Linked DNA regions of Homo sapiens: all the other regions are linked to region 3. Evidence: promoter capture Hi-C in 16 types of primary human blood cells and fetal thymus (Javierre and others, 2016). All regions are on one chromosome and are shown on one strand. Each heading gives the region's core, a stretch centred on a gene start or on the middle of the fragment in contact. The rest is flanking DNA. Distances are from core to core; before and after follow the strand shown.

What was found. The method cuts DNA at HindIII sites, captures the fragments that hold promoters and counts their contacts. A CHiCAGO score of 5 or more calls a contact.
Region 1: a contact is called between a fragment that was not itself captured here and the fragment with the promoter of LINC02880 in region 3, in 2 of 17 cell types (neutrophils and monocytes). The highest score is 6.3, in neutrophils.
Region 2: a fragment that was not itself captured here is called in contact with the fragment with the promoter of LINC02880 in region 3 in 1 of 17 cell types (neutrophils); the score reaches 5.2 in neutrophils.
Region 4: a fragment that was not itself captured here is called in contact with the fragment with the promoter of LINC02880 in region 3 in 1 of 17 cell types (endothelial precursors); the score reaches 5.5 in endothelial precursors.
Region 5: a contact is called between a fragment that was not itself captured here and the fragment with the promoter of LINC02880 in region 3, in 2 of 17 cell types (neutrophils and M0 macrophages). The highest score is 8.2, in neutrophils.
Region 6: a contact is called between a fragment that was not itself captured here and the fragment with the promoter of LINC02880 in region 3, in 1 of 17 cell types (neutrophils). The highest score is 7.6, in neutrophils.
Region 7: a contact is called between a fragment that was not itself captured here and the fragment with the promoter of LINC02880 in region 3, in 2 of 17 cell types (endothelial precursors and neutrophils). The highest score is 5.7, in endothelial precursors.

The regions. Positions count from the first base shown.
Region 1 is chr6:113,322,453-113,325,152 of GRCh38, forward strand. No RefSeq gene overlaps it. Among named protein-coding and RNA genes, the nearest start is that of LINC02518, 110 kb to the right of the region's middle. The HindIII fragment of the contact is 9,773 bases long and covers 1-2,700 here.
Region 2 is chr6:113,078,548-113,081,247 of GRCh38, forward strand. No RefSeq gene overlaps it. Among named protein-coding and RNA genes, the nearest start is that of LINC02518, 350 kb to the right of the region's middle. The HindIII fragment of the contact is 7,020 bases long and covers 1-2,700 here.
Region 3 is chr6:113,903,053-113,905,752 of GRCh38, forward strand. It overlaps LINC02880 (long intergenic non-protein coding RNA 2880), which reads left to right and starts at 1,335. Exons shown (of 4, transcript NR_027060.1): 1 at 1,335-1,692. The HindIII fragment of the contact is 3,143 bases long and covers 1-1,805 here.
Region 4 is chr6:113,180,675-113,183,419 of GRCh38, forward strand. The region is part of intron 1 of LOC105377955 (a long non-coding RNA gene); the gene reads right to left. All of the region lies in intron 5 of LOC105377953 (a long non-coding RNA gene), which reads left to right. Among named protein-coding and RNA genes, the nearest start is that of LINC02518, 250 kb to the right of the region's middle. The HindIII fragment of the contact is 949 bases long and covers 782-1,730 here.
Region 5 is chr6:113,281,721-113,284,420 of GRCh38, forward strand. No RefSeq gene overlaps it. Among named protein-coding and RNA genes, the nearest start is that of LINC02518, 150 kb to the right of the region's middle. The HindIII fragment of the contact is 967 bases long and covers 781-1,747 here.
Region 6 is chr6:113,061,801-113,064,500 of GRCh38, forward strand. All of the region lies in intron 2 of LOC107986636 (a long non-coding RNA gene), which reads left to right. Among named protein-coding and RNA genes, the nearest start is that of LINC02518, 370 kb to the right of the region's middle. The HindIII fragment of the contact is 4,715 bases long and covers 1-2,700 here.
Region 7 is chr6:113,135,433-113,138,132 of GRCh38, forward strand. No RefSeq gene overlaps it. Among named protein-coding and RNA genes, the nearest start is that of LINC02518, 300 kb to the right of the region's middle. The HindIII fragment of the contact is 1,671 bases long and covers 426-2,096 here.

The DNA of each region.
Region 1 (2,700 bases), core at 118-2,617, 580 kb before region 3:
TATTTCCAGTGTAACTGAAAGTTGACTCTTCGTGAACTTCCAATAAAATGTTATTACTTTTCATTAGTTCTGATTGGGCCATTTGCTCATCTTTAACAAATTGCCATGATGAGGGGAATGCGATGCTCTAATTGACCAAACATAGCCATGTTTGGACTCTGATTCAGGGGAGCAACCAACTCTGCTTAGAGCACCGCAACTGGGAAAGAGGGAAAAGATGGTACCCAGATGAAATTCAGGGTACAGTTACAGCCAGAAGGGGAAAAAACTGCTGAGAGGCATAATAAAAGATGAATGTCCACTACACGATTGAAACAGAGACAAAGAATAACTGAGGGAAGTAGGAAATACAATGTCAAGAAAAATTTTATTGATAAAATAATTACTGAGCTGAATTTTGGAGGACAAGGAAGAGTAAGCTAGATGAATGTGCTCCTGTCCTTACCCCAGAGGTGAAAGGTAGGTGCAAACCACCAGGTGAGGTCACCAAGATTAAAGTCATTTAGTTCTGTTTCAATATGGGTTTTCCTTTAACTGCGGATCAAAGACTGTCAGCATCTATATTATGGAAGATAATTATTTTAAAATACAACTTTATCAGGCCTCACTTCATACCACCTAAATTTTGGATCCTTGGGGCTGGGGCCTAGAATCTGTACTTTAACAAAACTAAATTAGCCTAGAAGATTTTTATATGTATTAAAGTTTAAGAACCACAGTTCTATATCTAAATAATTTATCCAATTTCTTAGGAGACCATGGGTACAGTATTCATCCATCCAATGAACAGATATTTGTCTAGCACCTTATACATGCCAGGCAGTCTTCCAGGCACTGGGAATATGTCAGTGAAATACAGTTGCTGTTAAAAGGACATTTCTACATTATCTGTGAGGTCCAGTGCAAAACAAAAATGTGAGGACCTCTTGTTCAGATACTAAGAATTGTAAGACAGAGACAGAAGAGCATTAAACCAAGTGTGACTTCACAGGTCCCATGGCCATGAAACTGGCCCTGCCTGCCAGTATAACATCTATAATCCAGTTGAGCTAAAGACCCTCAGAAACAAGAAGACTGTAAGCTCTTAAAATAAAAAACTTGGAGGTTATCAAAAACACACCCCTTCCTTATTATTTTTTTGGCTCTGTTCCTCTTATCAAAGTAGATATTATCAAAATTAACTCTGACTCTTATTTCCTCGAGTTACTGATGTTTTGAAGAGCAAAAGTGTCTTTGAATTTGGCATAGATCAATAGGATTAGTCTTTCCACTTTATCGTACCAGTGGTTCTCCAAATCTGATCCTCGTAACAGCAACATTAGCAACACCTGCGAACTTCTTAGACCTGCCCCGGTCCTACTGAATCAGAAACTCTAGCGGTGGGGCCCAGCAATCTGTGTTTTAACATGCCCCCAGATAATTCCAATGCATGATAAGGTTTTAGAAGCACTGTATCACACATACAACATCTGGGGCAGAGAAGTGAGGCATTTTGGTGTATATTTCCATTAAAAACAAATTGTACTTATAATTGACTTATTATTTATTTGTTAGTAGAATCAAGAAGGTGTGTCCATTTAAGTAATTAGAAAGAAATATACCTAAAACAAAGTGATTTAGAAAGGTGAAAAACAAAAGAATAGACAAACTTTGACAACTGAGAACTAAAGATGCAAGGATTAAAATCTTAATAGTAGAATGTAAGCCAAAAAAGAATTAACAAGGTAAATAATGGCACTTTATAATGCTGAAGAGTATAATTTAAGGTGGAGATATGACATTCCACCAAGTAATATATCATCAATATTCATGAAACAAATTTCGGGAAAAAATAGAGAATAGATTTTTAAAAACTAATAGAAGAGGTCTTTAGTTCACCTGCTTTTAAGTCTCTAGCAATCACCTTAACAAAATATAAGAATATTTATAGAAAACCTAAATTGCATAATTGAAGTAGTTTATCTTATTGATAAAATTCAAACACCATCCTGAAAATGGAGAATGTTTTTTTAAGAGTCCATGAAACAATTACAAAATGAATAAAAATCAGAACATATGAAAACATCAATAATTTATAAAAGGATAAATAGTATAGACAATATTCCTCAATTACAATGCACACAAAAAGACACAAATAACAAAAACTGAAAACCAAAAGGCCCTTTCACCTGGACATTGAAAAAATTTTTCTCAGAAAAAATATAAACCAAAATCTCAGCACTTTTAGGAAACATGATAAGTAAAACACTACATAACAGAACTATGGGAAACAATAAAGAAACACTCAAAGGGAAACTTGTGGACCTAGGTATTACCTCAAAAAAAGAGAAATAACTAAAACAAAGTCAAGCCAATAGAACAGAATAGAGAGCCCAGGAATAAGGCTGCCATCTACAACCATCTCATCTTTGACAAAGCTGACAAAAACAAGCAATGGGGAAAAGACTCCCTATTCAATAAATGGTGCTGGGATAACTGGCTAGTCATATGCAGATGATTGAAGCTGGACCCCTTCCTTATACCATATACAAAAATAAATTCAAGATGGATTAAAGACTTAAATGTAAAACCCAAAACTATAAAAACTCTGGAAGACAACCTAGGTAATACTATCCTGGACATAGGCATGGGCAAAGATTTCATGAAAAAGACCCCAAAAGCAATCGTAAGAAAAGCAAAAATTAACAAGTGGGATCTAAT
Region 2 (2,700 bases), core at 72-2,571, 820 kb before region 3:
TCCATATTAATTTCTAGTTCCAAGTATTTGCATTTAAAAATTATTTGAAATGACAATGGCTTTGTAATGTAATACAATAAAACAGGATTTTTTTCTTAATTAACTATGGTTTATAGACTAATAGAAAAATTAATAGTACCTGGAAGCTGAAATTGCTAGAAACTAAGAGAGGGCATGTGAATGCACATGTAATGAGAAATTAAAATTACCTCCTTGAAGTTACTTTCAACTTAGGGATAAGGGACTAAAAGAATTCAGATAGGATAAGAAATAACCAATATTTCAACTTTTGCAGGAACTAGGCTTGAAACACATTTGTTAACTTTAAAAATAACCAACATTTTTTCTCCATTGTTTTAAACTTAGATTCTCTCCACCTCTGTTTTTCACTGAAGTAGTTGTAAAAGTGACATTGGGTACCATTTCCACCCAACAGATGCAGGAAATACTGGAAATCTTTTAACAAAATCTGTACTGCAGAGATTTCCTTCTGAATTTCGCAAACTTCAGCAATTCACATAAATGAAAATTCAAAACAAAACAAAGCGAAAACTTTTTGGCATTAACCCGTGAGTTACAGAGTGAGATTTTAAAAGGTAAAATGAAATTCCATTATGATAATTTCGGGATGACAGGACAAACTTTTCTTGAGTTTACATGAGAAACTTTGTCATTATTCTGTTTTAAGTTGAATGTCATTAGGTTTGAAAGTCCTTTTGGTGATTAGAATTAATTCTTTCCATAAATATCCAACCACATGCCACAAACAAAATTTAAAAAAAGTTTGTAGATATATGAAACACATTTCATATATCTACATATGTCTTTTCATGTAAGTCAGGGGATGGAGGATAATCTATATCTTTTAAACAATATAGTACCTTAGTTTGAAAATAATTGATATTGAAAACTCTTTTAGAATGTGAGATAGCTGTAACAATTATGTTCAAATTATTAAGAATAACCTCAGAAATGCACTTTTAATGCTTGTGTCACTTTAAGGGCACAATATGAAGGTTAAGTTTGAGAGTGTGCACAAATAAATTTCTTGTTCATTAACCAAATGCACTCTTTTAATATTTTGCTGAAGATATTCCTATCAATATGCCTTGGCATTATTAAGTGTGGACACACTTCATTGTGCTAACAACTCACTAGATGCTTTGCTAGCAGCAGAATCCTTTCCTGGTACCAATACTGTTAGATCGGTTGTTAAGAAATTATGGATTAATCCAATTTTTTAATATTATCCTTTCCTACCACATGCATATAAACATAGTTTGGAGTTCATTTTCAAATATAAAGTACACTGAATACAAAATAAACTCTGTGTTGCTTCAAAACTTCGTAGGATGCTGACTCAATACAGAAAAGATATTTGATTGTTTCTTAAACCAGAATTTGAACAGACAAAAATTATTGAGTGTTATTTTAATATAAAAAATGAATCTCAGTTTAAATTTATACTTAAAAATCCCATTAACATGAATGTTCTTAGATAGTTGATTTAGTATCTTTTTTGCTTATATATATATGTATATGTTATGTTTATTCAGAAAGAGAGAGAGAAGAAGGAAGGAAGGAAGGGAGGGAAGAGAGAGAAGAAGGAAGGAAGGAAGGAAGAGAAATTGGAATGACTGACAATGTATTCTTCAGCACGGCCAGGTAAGATGCGCTAAAAGTAGCCTCTAATTATTTTATTGGTCAATGTATTAATAAAAGGTACAATATAATCACTTATGTAAGTCACCAATTACATAAAACAAAAATATTGTGAATTTGTTAAAATGTCTGTGATGGATCCTCCAGAACACCCTCTGTGAAAGCACAATGTGGGTTTGGTTGAGGATTTTCGATCAGATCTCTCAGGGTACGCCAATTACATCACTTTACAGTGAAAAAGACCTATTCCTATTAATAATATACACAAAGCAAAGTTTTATCAGCAGGTGAGGTAGAATCATTTTATTTCCTGTTGTTATGCTCCAATATACTTTTACTAGCAAAACCTTTCTCAGATTTTTATAGAATAATTATAACTTGATGGTCTAAAAAGTTTTAAATATTAAAAATAAGATAGATTTTATTTTTTTAATATTTCTTAGGTGAAAATGTTAATTTTTCTTTATAAACAAACACATTGTATATATCTATAGATGTCTTCTCATGTAAGTCAGGGGCTGGAGGATAATCTATATCTTTTAAACAATATAGTAACTTAGTTTGAAAATAGGTGATATTGAAACTCTTATAGAATGTGAGATAGCTGTAATAATTATATTCAAATTCTTAAGAATAGCCTCAGAAATGCACTTTTAACGCTGTGTCACTTTAGAGGCAGGATAAGCAGGTTAATGTGTTATAAATTAAAATTAATAACATCTGATGTTATAGCACAGGGTCCTCAAGAAAAACAAAGACTAAGTATAAAATTGTTGGCAAAGTACCTACCAAGCATGTGGCACTGCTGTCGCTCAGTAATATTTAAATAACCACCTTTCTTGAATGGTTAACAGAGAATTTGTGAAGCCTGATCAGGCATGGACAACTTAAATAAAGATAACATGCGATATCAAGAAATAAAAATAAGTTTAGCTTGCAAATTTTTGAAAAAGATTTTTTACTGTAACTTGTAAATTTTTAGAATACAAAAAGACCACCAGTTTTAAAGACTATTATTTAAGGCTGAATAAATTGTCA
Region 3 (2,700 bases), core at 85-2,584:
CATTTGAAGTTTGTGTCTGTGTGTGTGTGTGTGTGTGTGTTTTTGCAGTTCCTTTTGTTCTAAGGGTATATCCCACTTGAGGTCTACAGTCAATTCCCAGGTTTTAATGTCACTTGAAATACTTTCTCCCAAGAGGATGTGCCACCAACTCAATATCTAGTTAGGTTTGACTTTTTTCATTTTGTTTTGAGTTTTAACGATTATATCTTAATATTTATCAACTATATATTTTGGAAATCTTTTCATACTTGCATGTAGAGATATTCTTCTTCTTTTTTTTACAGCTGTGTACTACTGCATTGTGTGAATGTACCATAGTTGAGGGTCCCCTATTGATGGACATTTGAGTTTTTTCTAATACACAAATTGTGCTGTGATAGGTGGCCTTGTGAATACATCTTTCCATTTCTGTCAGTGCATCTTTGGGATAAATTAGAAACTGTAATGCTAAATCAAAAGTAGCCAGTAGAATGTCTTTTTGCTTGAATAATCATAATATTTATCCTGTGCTCTAAGGGTGAAATGATGCCACCTCTTCCCCAAGTGCAGGGAATGAAGAGATGAGCCTTTGGCCCCTGATATGTCAACAATTATCTCTCCTAGAAGACCAACTGAGCTCTCTTACCAGTAGACTTTCTGGAAGAACATCCAAACATGTCCTGATAGAAACAAAGCCAGATCTTGTCTCAGAAGAAAAAAAAAAAAATAGGGGCAAAAATATTCTACACAGATCACAAAAGTTTTCTTAGGAAACCATGCTCCCCCTGGACAGCTCCCCAGGAAGGTAACCCTTGGCGTTGATCTTGCGATTGGAAGGGTGTTCATTTTTTAATTATGCTGACAGACATTCAGTGAGAACTGTACTTCCCGAGGGCTAGTGAGCAGGGGGAGGTTTTCCCTGTTGTGCTCAGGCAGGACGTTCCAGGGATCTGGGGAGGCCCTGACATAACTGCACGTTCACACGGCTGCCCCTCCCTCCTCCTCCCTCTGTCTTCTCCAAAACAAATGACCTCGCTGGGATCCTGTTTGCCTTTTACTGACTTCCTGGACCAAAGCAGTGTGCCTGTGAGTGCAACAGCTGATCCCTTTCGGAGTGGAGTTTCCTAGCTGGTGCCTGTCCTCTCTTGAGCCTTTGTTTCTTGAGTGAGCACTCACTGGGGCTGTGGCTCCATGAACTGGATTTCAGGAAACCAGCCAAGGCATTCTCTCTCTCTCTCCATTCCTAGAAAGGCAGAAAGCCTGGGAATGGGTTCGGCAGGAAGATCTCTGTACCTCAATCTCCATTGCTTTCAGCACCACTGGCTTTCTCCCCAGCTCAAGTGCAAAACCTGCCATCGTTGCTACCTGGGGTGCCTCAGACTCACCCAAGTCCCCCAGGCCAGAGGACATGCTCTCAAGCCTTGTTTCAGAAAGAGGGACCCAAAGGCTGTTAGGGAAGAGAACCAGGGTCCTCAAACCCAGGGTTTTCTCACCCACTGCCTCTGCTCTGGCTGTGGCCTGCCAGACCTCTCCTCTGATTTTCGCTTTCCTTCCTGCCAGTGCCTTTGTTTATCCGAGGCGCCAAGATCCCACTGTGAAGTCTGAAAGGAAGACCAGTGGTTCTCGCTTTTCCTCTAGATGCTGTGTCTCCCAATGTCATCTTCTTTCCTCTCAAAGACAATTGGACGTTGTTACAGATTTTCTTGGAATGAGGTGAGTGGACGTTGTTTTTCCCTAGGAATGTTCTCCTGTGCTTCAGAGACATATTTAGAAGGGCATAAGAACAAGAGGAATTAGTGTGGGTCCCTGCCACTGGCACCCCTCCAAGCTTGGCTTTACCCCTTCATGTCAACACCATTTCCTCCCAGGCTTTTCACAGCTTTACAGCCCATCTCAAGTCTTTAACTGCTAAGTGAGCTTTAAAGAAAAGAAAAATCTTCAAAGGCTCCACCAAAGGAAAGAACGGGGCACCTCACATTCGGCCTAAGACAGGAGTGAAAAGACAGGAGATTTGACATTCGCATGGCTGTTCTCTATCCCACCCACTTACAACTTTATACTTATCCTCCCGAAGTCTCAATCCAGCTTCAATTTTATCTGAAAAGGGTCATTTGGGATACAAAAAGCTGCTCCTCCAATGCCACCAAACAACTGCTGGTGCCCTCTATTAACCATCTGAGAAAGCCTAAACATCTCTCCAGCACAAGTAGACCAGGAATTCCCAGCCCCCATCCCATATAAAATCCAAACGATGACAGTAATTGAATGACACAGTGTATTCAATAACCCCACCGTACCTTCCTTCTCACTTCCAGGGGTGATCACATTGACATCTCACCTCATCCGTGGGCTGCCCACAGCCTGGCTATGTCCAGGACTTCTGGTCTCTCTCTCTCTCTCTCTCTAAAAGATAGGGTCTCGTTATGTTGCCCAGGATAGATGTGAACTCCTGGGCTCAAGCGACCCTCTCCTCTCAGCCTCCCAAGGAGTTGTGACTACAGTCTCACACCACCATGCCCAGCTAAGCTCACTGCACATGTCAATGTCTTATCTCCCGGCCCTTCCCTTCTTCCGTTTGTCCTCCCCTCCCCTGTTCTCACTATTCACCTTTCCTTCAGTTGCCCACCTACTTCCATGTTCGGAGGCCAGTGCTCTTTGGATCTGACATGTTGTGTGTGGGTCCCAATGGTTCATAGAAGGCCAGAGGGTCAGACACTTCTG
Region 4 (2,745 bases), core at 6-2,505, 720 kb before region 3:
GTCCTGCTCTTGTTGGGCAGATAGGTCCCTTCTTTGTCATCACTTTCCTCAGTATGTGCCCAGCATGATTGATGCTGTCTATTATCTAAAAATGTCCTTCAATAACTTCCTTGACTCTTACAGCACCCCAGGACATCCATAAACCAAAATGTGTATTTCCCTGAACAGCAAGCAAGGAGGTGGGCATTGAGGAAATGTTAAGTCCCTATACTTGTATTAATGGGAGCTGGGATGGGGAAGTAGGTGGTATTGAATGGAATCAGTTTTCTGAACCAGAGACTCATCAATGGCATGGGTAGATGGAAAGAAAATTTCTTCCCTTACCCAAGATATTTCTAACAAACATGTTATCTAAGTATGCATATTACATTTATGTTTCTTTTCTAAACATTTTACATAGCTATTAAGTAAAGTTGGTAAGTAAACTATGGTATGGCATTTTCTTTTTTAGCTATAACTTCTGTTTTACAGAACTGGCACACTGAGCACCCATAAACTTATTTTGTTTAGCTCACACAGTGTTTAATTAAAATTAATTACTAGCATTTAAATATTTTGAAATTTCAAATGAAAATCCAAGTTTCTGACTACTCTTGTAAACCTGGATAGTTGAACAACACTGGGACTGTTCTTGCGTGGCTGCAGTTGACTGCAGCTGAATAGATACTGGTGCCCTAAGCCAAGGCAAGTGCTCTCTAGCCACTTGCCCACAACCACTTTATTCATTCCCTTTTCTTTCTGGGCCTTGAAGCATTAGCGTGCAAAAATGCTTGCATAAGGAAGCTTAATATCCCTTCCAAGAATGATCTAGTCTTTCAATTTCAAGATGAAATACGGCACACTGATAAATATTTGCTGCACACACACACTTAAAAACACAAAGTATATACATCCTCATGAATCAAATCATCCTCAAGTCTAAATAACTAAAAGGGAGACATATCTCCTGTATTGAAAGAAAGCCCTGTAGGATTTAAAATACAAGGAATGCATGGAGAAGGTGGGCAGCATGTACACAGCTGAAATATAATGGATCAATCTAACAAGAAATCTTGCACAGAGATTCTAAACGAATAGTCAGCTTTTTCCTCTTAGAAAAACCAGCATTGACAATGGAGAGAATAGGGAAGGTTCTGGGACACAAAATAAGAAGGACAAAAGTTTATCTTTGGAAAACTAAACCTGTAACCACTTGTTAACACTTTATTTTACAAATCTGCTCTTGATTTATGAAATTTTCAAAGATAGTTAAAATCATCCTTTCCTAAGAAGAACCACTCCTTTTTACATTTAAAAGAATCCTAGACATTTGAGCAATAATAGTTTATAGATACCATTGCCTTAAATAAATGTAAAAAAGAACTCAGGACATCTCTTTTGCCAAGATTACTCAAAATTTAGGAAATTACATAAATACACTCAGAAGTTCAAGGGTCAGCTTTTCTTTATCTTCAGTCTTCATCACGCATTTGCAATACATTATAAAGACTGATAGCTTCCATAAGCAGATAAAAAAATTGTTGGGATAGGAAAGTTTAATCGATATAACTTAAAAGTACCACAGATACCTGATGAATGTCAAAATGTCATATTCCCCTTTTTGCTGTGTTACTAGAGCCATTTGATTTTAAAGAAAACGTAAAATGTCAAAGCATCAGAAAATTTCTGTATGGTCTTTCTGTTCAAGGTTCCCCATCTTTCTTGGCTATTAACCAATATACTCAAGAAAAAGCTTTCATCACTCCAAAAAAAAAAAAAAAAATTTCAAGGGGGTTAGCACTTGAGGCATTGTCTTCCTTAAAACACTTCCTATTTGATTCCCTCTGACAGCTGTTTATGTTGAAGATTACTAACATTCCCAAAGTACTTCATAGTAAAGATTAAACCTGAAGATTACAAAGGTTTATGCATTTTCACATACTGTGATGTGACCTTAATCTACTTAAATCTAAAGAAAAAAAGTCATTTTACAAAGACCCATTTAGCTATTTCGACATGATTCTTTATTTTTTTGGATGCTTATTTGGCATATGAGCCAGAAATTTAAAATGTAACAAAAAATATGTCTTGAAAAAAATTAAAAACAGGCATTTGCAGCACGATGGAAAAGTTCTATAGAGCTTTGAGGGAAGTCCATTCAATTTCACTGGCATTCATAAATGATGACTAATGCATTCAAATAGAATGAGTAATTTACCAAATTACAGACATTTGGATGGGCTCAGAATGAAGATGTTGTTTGTTTGGATATGTCCTGAAGTGAATCTCAATGAGGTTTACTTTGTTATGCCTGACTCTACAAATAGACTTCAGTCACAATTTGAACAAAAGCCCTGACATGTAAATAAATGTGCAAATGATGCCCAGCTACATTATTCTTTTTGTCCTCGGACCACTCAGGAACAGTCAACTCCATTAAAAAATATCAGTCACAAATAGATGGCACCATTGTACTTATCACAAAAGCACCATAAAATAGGCTTCTCTTGGCAAGTTATCAGTGTTATACCCATTCTCTTCACGCCACAAAAACCAAGTCCACACATGCTACAAAATACCTCTCCTAGCAGCCATGGGCTACCCTACAAAAAGTGGACCCTCCACACTTGCATGCTAGTGCCTCATAATATTGGCATCTCCTATCGGACAGCACAAGAAAAGAGCTTTAAAATTCAGAATGCTTCTTTTAAAGGGCTTCCACCCACTGTTATGAAGCAGAGATGAAGGGCAACAGCAAACCCAATT
Region 5 (2,700 bases), core at 14-2,513, 620 kb before region 3:
ATGAAATGTAAATATATTTGGCATCTTTGTGAATCTCTTTCACTATTCACATGGATTAATTCCATAGAGGATTCCTGCCTGGTTAATACCTAATTGAGGATGGGGAGCAGTTCTTTGGCATGTGCAGGAAACATCAGGAAAACCATGTAGCAAAACTATTAACAATGCAGTTCCAAATAAATTTTTGAAACAGTTTGTCAATTTCTTTTAAAAAAAAAAGTCTGCTGGAGTTTGATTGCAATCATATTAATTCTATAGATGAGTTTAGGGAAAATTAACATCTCAACATTGAGTCCTCTTAAGTGATGAACATGTTATATCTTTTCATTTATTTAGGTTTTCATTAATTTCTCTCAGTAATCTTTTGTAGTTTTCAGTGTACAGGTTTGTCCCCCACTTTATTAAACTAATCACTAAATATCTCATGTTTTTGATGTTATTAATAATGAAATATTTTAAAATTTATTTTTCAGTGGTTCAATGCAAATATTTATGAGTTCAATTGATTTTTATGTTTGGTTTATTGACCTTGTATTCTAAGATTTTGCTAAATTCCCTTACTAATTTCAGCAGGTTTTTTGTAGGTTCCTTAGGATTTTGTTTATATGTGGCCATGTTGTCTGTTAGTACAGAAAATGTTACTCTTTCCTTTCCAATCGGTATGTCTTTTATTTTACTTCTTTTGTTGTTATGGCTAGGAAAGCAAGCAACGTGTTATATGGAAGTGGTAAGGCCAGATATCCTTTTACTTGGTCCCAATTTGGGGGGAGAAAGCATTCAAGCTTTCATCATTATGTATGTTAGCTGACATTTTTAAAGTACCCTTTATCAGGGTGAGAAAACTACATTTTATTCCTAACTTGTTCATAAATTTTTATCGTGAATGAGTATTGAATGTTGTCAGATGTCCTTTTCTGCATCTATAAAGATAATCATGGTTTTCCCCTTTACTTTGTTAATTGATTAATTACTGAGTGATTTTTAAATGCTAAACCAACCTTATAATCTAGGGATTAACTAGACTTTGTCACAATTTATTATTTTTAAATGTTGCTGGATTTGTTACTATCAAAGACTTTTTCTCTGCATTCCTGAGGAATATTAATTTGTTGCTTGCTTTCTTATAATGTGCAGGTCTGACCTTGGTATAAGAGAAATGCTAGCCTCAGATAAAGAGTTAGGAAGTATTATCCTTTTATTTAAAAAAATATATAGAATTTCAGTTGTTCAGTTGTTTTTTCCTTTAATATTAGATAAAATTCAGCAGTAAGATTATCTGTTCCTGGGATGTTCTTCGGGAAAGATTTTTAAAACGAAATTGAAAATGTTTAGTTGGTAAACACTATTCAGTTTTCTATTTTTAAATAACTTTTGTAATTTTGTGTCTTTAAAGGCATTTGTTAATTTCACATAAGCTGTCAAACTTATCAGCATAAAGTTATTCATAGTATTTATCATTCTTTAAATATATGGAAAATTAATATGTATGTCCCTTCTTTCATACCTGATCTTGGTAATTTATATATCCCCTCTCTCTGTCTCTCTGAGTTGAGCTAGATATTTGTCAACATTACTGATCTTTCAGACATTTATGTGGCCAACAAACATATGAAAAAAACTCAACATCACTAATCATTAGAGAAATGAAAATCAAAACCACAATGAAATATCATCTCATGCCAGTCAGAATGGTGATTATTAGAGGTCAAGTAACAACAGATGTTGTGAGGGTGTGGAGAAATAGGAAAGCTTTTACACTGTTGGTGAGAATGTAAATTAGTTCAACCATTGTGGAAGACAGTATGGAGATTCCTCAAGGATGTGGAATCAGAAATACCATTTGACCCAGCAATCCCATTACTGGGTATATACCCAAAGGAATATAAATCATTCTGCTGTAAAGACACATGCACACATATGTTTAGTGAAGCACCATTTACAATAGCAAAGTCATGGAACCAACCCAAATGTCCATCAGTGATAGACTGGAAAATGTGGTATATATACACAATGAGATACTACACAGCCATAAAAAGGAAAGAGATCATGTCCTTTGCAGGGACACAGATGAAGCTGGAAGCCATCATTCTCAGCAAACTAACACAGAAACAGAAAACCTAACACTGCATGTTCTCACTCATAAATGGGAGTTGAACAATGAGAACACATGGATACAGGAAGAGGAACAACACACACCAGGGCCTGTTGGGGGATGGAGGGTGACGGGAGGGAACTTAGAGAATGGGTCAATAGGTGCAGCAAACCACCATGGCACACATGTACCTATGTAACAAACCTGCACATTCGGCACATGTATCCCAGAACTTAAGGTAAAAACAACAACAACAACAAACATTATTGATCTTTCAAAGTAACTAGATGTTGATTGTATTTTTATTATTCATTATTTGTTTACTTTCTATTTTACTAATTTCTGCTCTTATCCTTTTATTTATTTTTAAAAATTAAATTTGGGTTTAATTTGTTGTTCTTCTAGTTTCTTGAAGTGGAAACTTAGGTCACTGATTTTTGGATCTATCTTCTTTTCCAACATGAGCATGACAAGTATCTAAATCTATAAAATTCAAGGATTGCTTTAGGTTTCCCCCACATACTTTGATGTCTTATGTTTTCTCTCTTATTAATTTTAAAATCTTTTAATTTTCCATCTTATTTTCTTTTTCACCTACGGGTTATTTA
Region 6 (2,700 bases), core at 198-2,697, 840 kb before region 3:
TTGTTTGTTCTGAGATGGGTATTTAAGATGCTTCAGATATTTGCTATTACAAATAATGCTGAAAAAAGTGTGTTTTATCAGGCATACATTTAAAAGTTTCTATAGCATATATCCCTAGAAATAGAATTTCTGGATTTTAAGACATACAAATCTTAATTTTACTAGATATTGTTAAGTTGCTTCCCATAGAGGTTGTATCAATTTACTCTGCTACCATAAACATGACAATTCTTTGCCAGCATGCAGTTTTGTGATATTTCCAAAAAATTTCATCAGTCTCATGCACCTAATTTTTGTTTTAAATTGAATTTCTATGATTGCTTACAAAATTAAGCAACTTTTCACATTTATTGGCCATGTAGATTTCTTCTTTTGTAAATTGCTCCCATGTTTATTTTATTTTCATTCACTTCTTTGCCGTTTGCTTATTCATTTGTAGATGTTAATTATATTTTCTGAGTAATAATCCCTTGTTATATCTTTACTGGGGCAGGAGACATTGGCTGTGTGTTTGTGTGTGCACACGTGTGTTGTGTGTGTATGTATGTGCATATATGTATTTGGGTCAGTTGTCCCTTGATATCCATGGAGGATTGGTTCCAAAACCTCCTACAGATGACAAAATATGCAGACTCTCAAGTCCCTGATATAAAATAAAATGGCGTATTCGCATATAGCCTATGCACATCCTTCTATATACTTTAAATCATCTCTAGATTACTTACAATGCCTAATGCAATGTAAATACTATGTAAATAGTTGTTCTACAATATCATTTAGATATAACAAGAAGAAAATAAAGACTGTACACATTCATTACAGACACAGTATTTTTCAAATATTTCTACCCACATTTGGTTGAATTTATGGATGCAGAGCCCACGAATAAGAAGGGCCAGCTATATATAGTCTATACATAAATCTGATATACATCTGTTCCACCTGGATGGGTGTGTTTTAGGACATTGTTACATTGCTTTATTTGTCTTGCTCTATAATATCTAGTAAGTGGTTTAATTAAGATAACTTAAAAATAAATATTGATTTTTGCAGGAAAAACACCTCTCAATACATATTTTATTCTCCTTTGTCTATTTTTTATATTTTCTTTTTGCCATGAAGTTTAAATTACCTTTTCAAGTTTTATGTGACAACTATTTATCCAGCTTTAGTAGCAATTCTTAAATTAGCAATATGTTTTATGAATGTAACTTATATTTTGTTTGTTTTTTATAATTTTTCTTTTTAGTTTGTTGGGGGTACATATTAGGTGTATACATTTATGAGGTATGTGAGATATTTTGGTACAGGCATGCAATACATAATAATCACAACATGGAAAATGGGGTATCCATCCTCTCCAGCATTTATCCTTTGTGTTCCAAATAATCCAATTATATTCTGTTAATTATTTGAAAATGTACAATTAAATTATTATTGATGACAGTCACTCTGTCATGCTATTAAATACTAGGACTTATTCATTTATTCTAATATTTTTTTGTACTCATTAAACATCCCCATCTCCCTGCCAACACAACCCAATACTCTTCTCACCCTCTGGTAACCATCCTTCTGCCCTCTTTCTCCATGAGTTCAACTGTCTTCATTTTTAGATCCCATGAATAAGTGAGAACATGTGATGTTTGTCTTTCTGTACCTGGCTTATTTTACTTAACATAATGACCTCCAGTTCCATCTGTGTTGTTGCAAACGGCTGAATCTCATTCTTTTTTTATATCTCAATAGTACTCCATTATGTATTTGTGCCACATATTATTTATCCATTCATCTGTTGGTGGATACTTAGGTTGCTTCCAAATTTTGGCTATTGTGAACAAAGCTGCAACAAACATGGGAGTGTAGCTATCCCTTTGATATAATGATTTCCTTTCTTTTGTATATATACCCAGCAGTGGGATTGATGCATCGTATGGTAGCCCTATTTTTAATCTTTTGTGAATGTAACCTACTTTAAATGATTGATGCAAATTAGGTTCCTAAGGCTTACATTTCCCCAAACATTTATTTATTTGTCTGTTTATTTACTTAATTTGATTATGGTATAATAAATTTAAGTTGTTTAGAGTATACAATTGTATCTAGTTTTGACATCTCTAAACACCTGTGAATGCTTTAAGACAATTAAGATGATCATTTTTATTATTCCTAAAGTTTAATTGTACTACTTTCCATCCCATCCCTCCTTTTACCCCTGCCCCAGGCAATTACCAGTGTGATTTCTATTTCTGGATTTAGTTTACACTTTTTAGAATTTTATACACATGACATCATATCATATGCATTACTTTTGTATAGTTTCTTTCATTTAGCAAATAGATTTTTATAATCATCCATGTTGTGGTCTGTATCAATAGTTTATTCCTTTATTTTCTGTGTGATAGTGAATGAATGATCCATTGAATGGATGTATTTCAATTTACGTATGCATTAACCTGTTGATGGATATTTGCATTTTTTTCCAGTTTGAGGCTCTTACATATAAAATTGCTGTGAATATTTATGTACAAGCCTTCATGTGAATGTGCCTTTATGTTTTATTGCTCTTGGATATATACCTAGGAGTGGAATGCCTAGATGATATGGCAGGCATTTAAGTTTTCACTAAACTGCAAATTAGTTTTTAAAGTGGTTGTACTATTCTACATTCCCACTAGCAGTGTAAGAGAATTCCAGTCC
Region 7 (2,700 bases), core at 11-2,510, 770 kb before region 3:
CTTGAGAGTGAGAGAAAGAAAGAAAACGAATTTATCACTGAATACAGAAAACACATCACCCTTTTTTACCACCTGTGACCCACGCCCTGCAGCCATGTGTTATGATTCTGTACCAAGCAATTTCAAGGAGATGCTCTTGGAGGATATTTATGGGAGGACTTTCCTGCTCTTCTGGATCACTATTTCACCTTTTGCCGTGCCAAGTCAGAATCAGAATGACTGATATTCTAAGAGGTATATAAAAATCAAATTCATCAAGAAACCAAGCATTCACTAAAGGATGGTATTAATTTGGAAGTCTGCATTTTTACATGTGAGTTATATAACCAAATCTTCATTGAAACATTGCGGTTCACTTTGCCAATCCTAGTTTTAGAATATGAAAGGTAAAATTAAGTAGAGAACAAAGTGTTTAACATTTCACAAGCTTGAAGAGGAACAATGGTTATTTACTAACATCAAACTTCAAAAAATTATTTCTAGGACTGGAATATTGGCCTCCATTTTTTTTTACACTAAAGTTACCATTTTAATGTGAAAGACTGAACAGACTAAATGTTTTCTAAAGTAATTTATTTTTACAATATTTTCACATAGTTCAACTTGAAACTGCACTGAGATTGTAATACATTGGAAACAAAATTTAATTTTCAGATCAACCTTTAGTGTATCTTTTGAAAAGTTGTGTATAATATAAACTTCTAAGATGCTCTTGCCAAAAATGAATTTTTATATCCTGTCATTCAAATTATGCATGAGGTTTACTAAAAGCTCCATCTGAATTGTGAGAAACTGTTTCCTAAATGTGTATGTGTACAAACAGGCACACATTCGTGTGCACATATATCAGAAAAACATGTCTTATATTATTCCTATAACAAGTTCTCCATTCTGCTACCATTATCTGTAAGTTTCTGTGATTGCAGTAGTTTATAAAAGGACTTATCTTTCCTGTTAAAGCAATAAGCATCCAAAACTCAGAGTGTGGATGTTCAAAGTCTAGTTGAAAATAAATATCATTATTCATATTTTGATTTTATGCACAGCTGTGGTCTTCCTTTCTCTGTTGTTAACAGAGCTGTCTTCTCTTTTCAGTGAAAGCAAAACAAAGAGCAGATTGGAGATTCATTTATGGTGAGGGTTAATGTTAGTTAACATTCAATCTTTAGTTATAATAAGCATATACATGTGTGGGTGTTTTATGTACATGTGTGTTCAATTTCTTCTACCAATATGGTTAACCATGGATTTAAATAGTTTCCAAGTCTTTCCTTCATTAAAGTTTCTTTAATGAAAGGAAATAGATTAAGAACAGCAACATTAGCAAAGGTGACATTTGCTCGATGTTAATATGGTATGAATAACAAAACTCATCATGTCACCAGGTTGGATGCGGTGGCTCATGTCTGTAATCCCAGCACTTTGGGAGGCTGGGCATGGTGGCAGGTGCCTGTAATCCCAGCTACTCAGGAGGCTAAGGCAGGAGAATCATTTGAACCCCGGAGGCAGAGGTTGCAGTGAGCCAAGATCGCACCACTGCCCTCCAGCCGGGGCGACAGAGCGAGACTCTGTCTCAAAAAAAAAAAAAAAAATTTCCTCAGTAGAACCTGTGTGTGAAATACCAGGATTGCCCGTGAGGAGGCATATGAACAAACTTTCTCCTGTTTTTGTTTTGTTTTGTTTTGTTTCTCCTAGAACATCAAGAAAATTCCAGATTAAGACTATTCCTCTAAAATTTAAATGCACTCAATATTCAAGCAAGCCTGAAAGATGTCTTTTAACTTTCACCCTCAGTATTTGTCATGCCATACTGCAAGAACAATCTCCACATGTTCATCCATGAGGCACAGGGGCAGCAGACCGTACATTTTAATGGGACCATTTTCTTAAAATGTCAGTAGTATACCTTGGCTTGCATATAAAAATATATTCTGAGAATTTAAATATTTTCAACAAAAACCCCTAGCTTTTGAACACACTTAGGTTCACAACTCCCACAAATACTTTTTCCTTCTCTCAAATTTCAGGCAACAAGAGTGCCAGAAGATGTGGAATTTGTATAACCCCAAACTGTGTTTTCCTAACTAATCTTGGCAAGCTTAAAACCCTGGAAAGTCACAATTCACTTCCCAGGCGATCATCCTGGACAGCTCAACAGCAGAAAAGCAGAACAGGATATCCAGCTATTGAACCGGGCTGCCGGCCCAGGTGGCCAGCCTTGAAGCTGTGGAGAGCGCCTACCAGGAGGGCCGCATGGGCTGCAGGAAGACACGTTCCTTTCCTCTGTCTGTTGTGAGCTGGAAAGGAAAGTACAGTCTGCACTCCCGAAACACTGCCTGCCAACACAGCACTTTTCAGCAAAGGTGAAAAGAGAGTATGTCTCTAACAATAAATGTCACAAGAGGAACAAATCATTTATAAGATTCAGGAGGCCCCAACTCAAGCAGATAGTTGGCAGTGGAAAAACAGCTTCAATTTTATTACTGTATTGAATGAGACATAGCTTCACAGATGTGAGACCATTTAAGACCAATTGTTTTTGTACCTAAAGTTACTTAAGTATATAGGATGAAAGAAATAATGAGTTAGGGGGCTAGGGTTAGATTCTCTGGTCTTGTGCTAAGAGTTCCATGACAGGAATTTTTATCGTTATTAATGACAAGGTCTTCCTCCTGATGCCATTCTTCTATTTTTGTATTT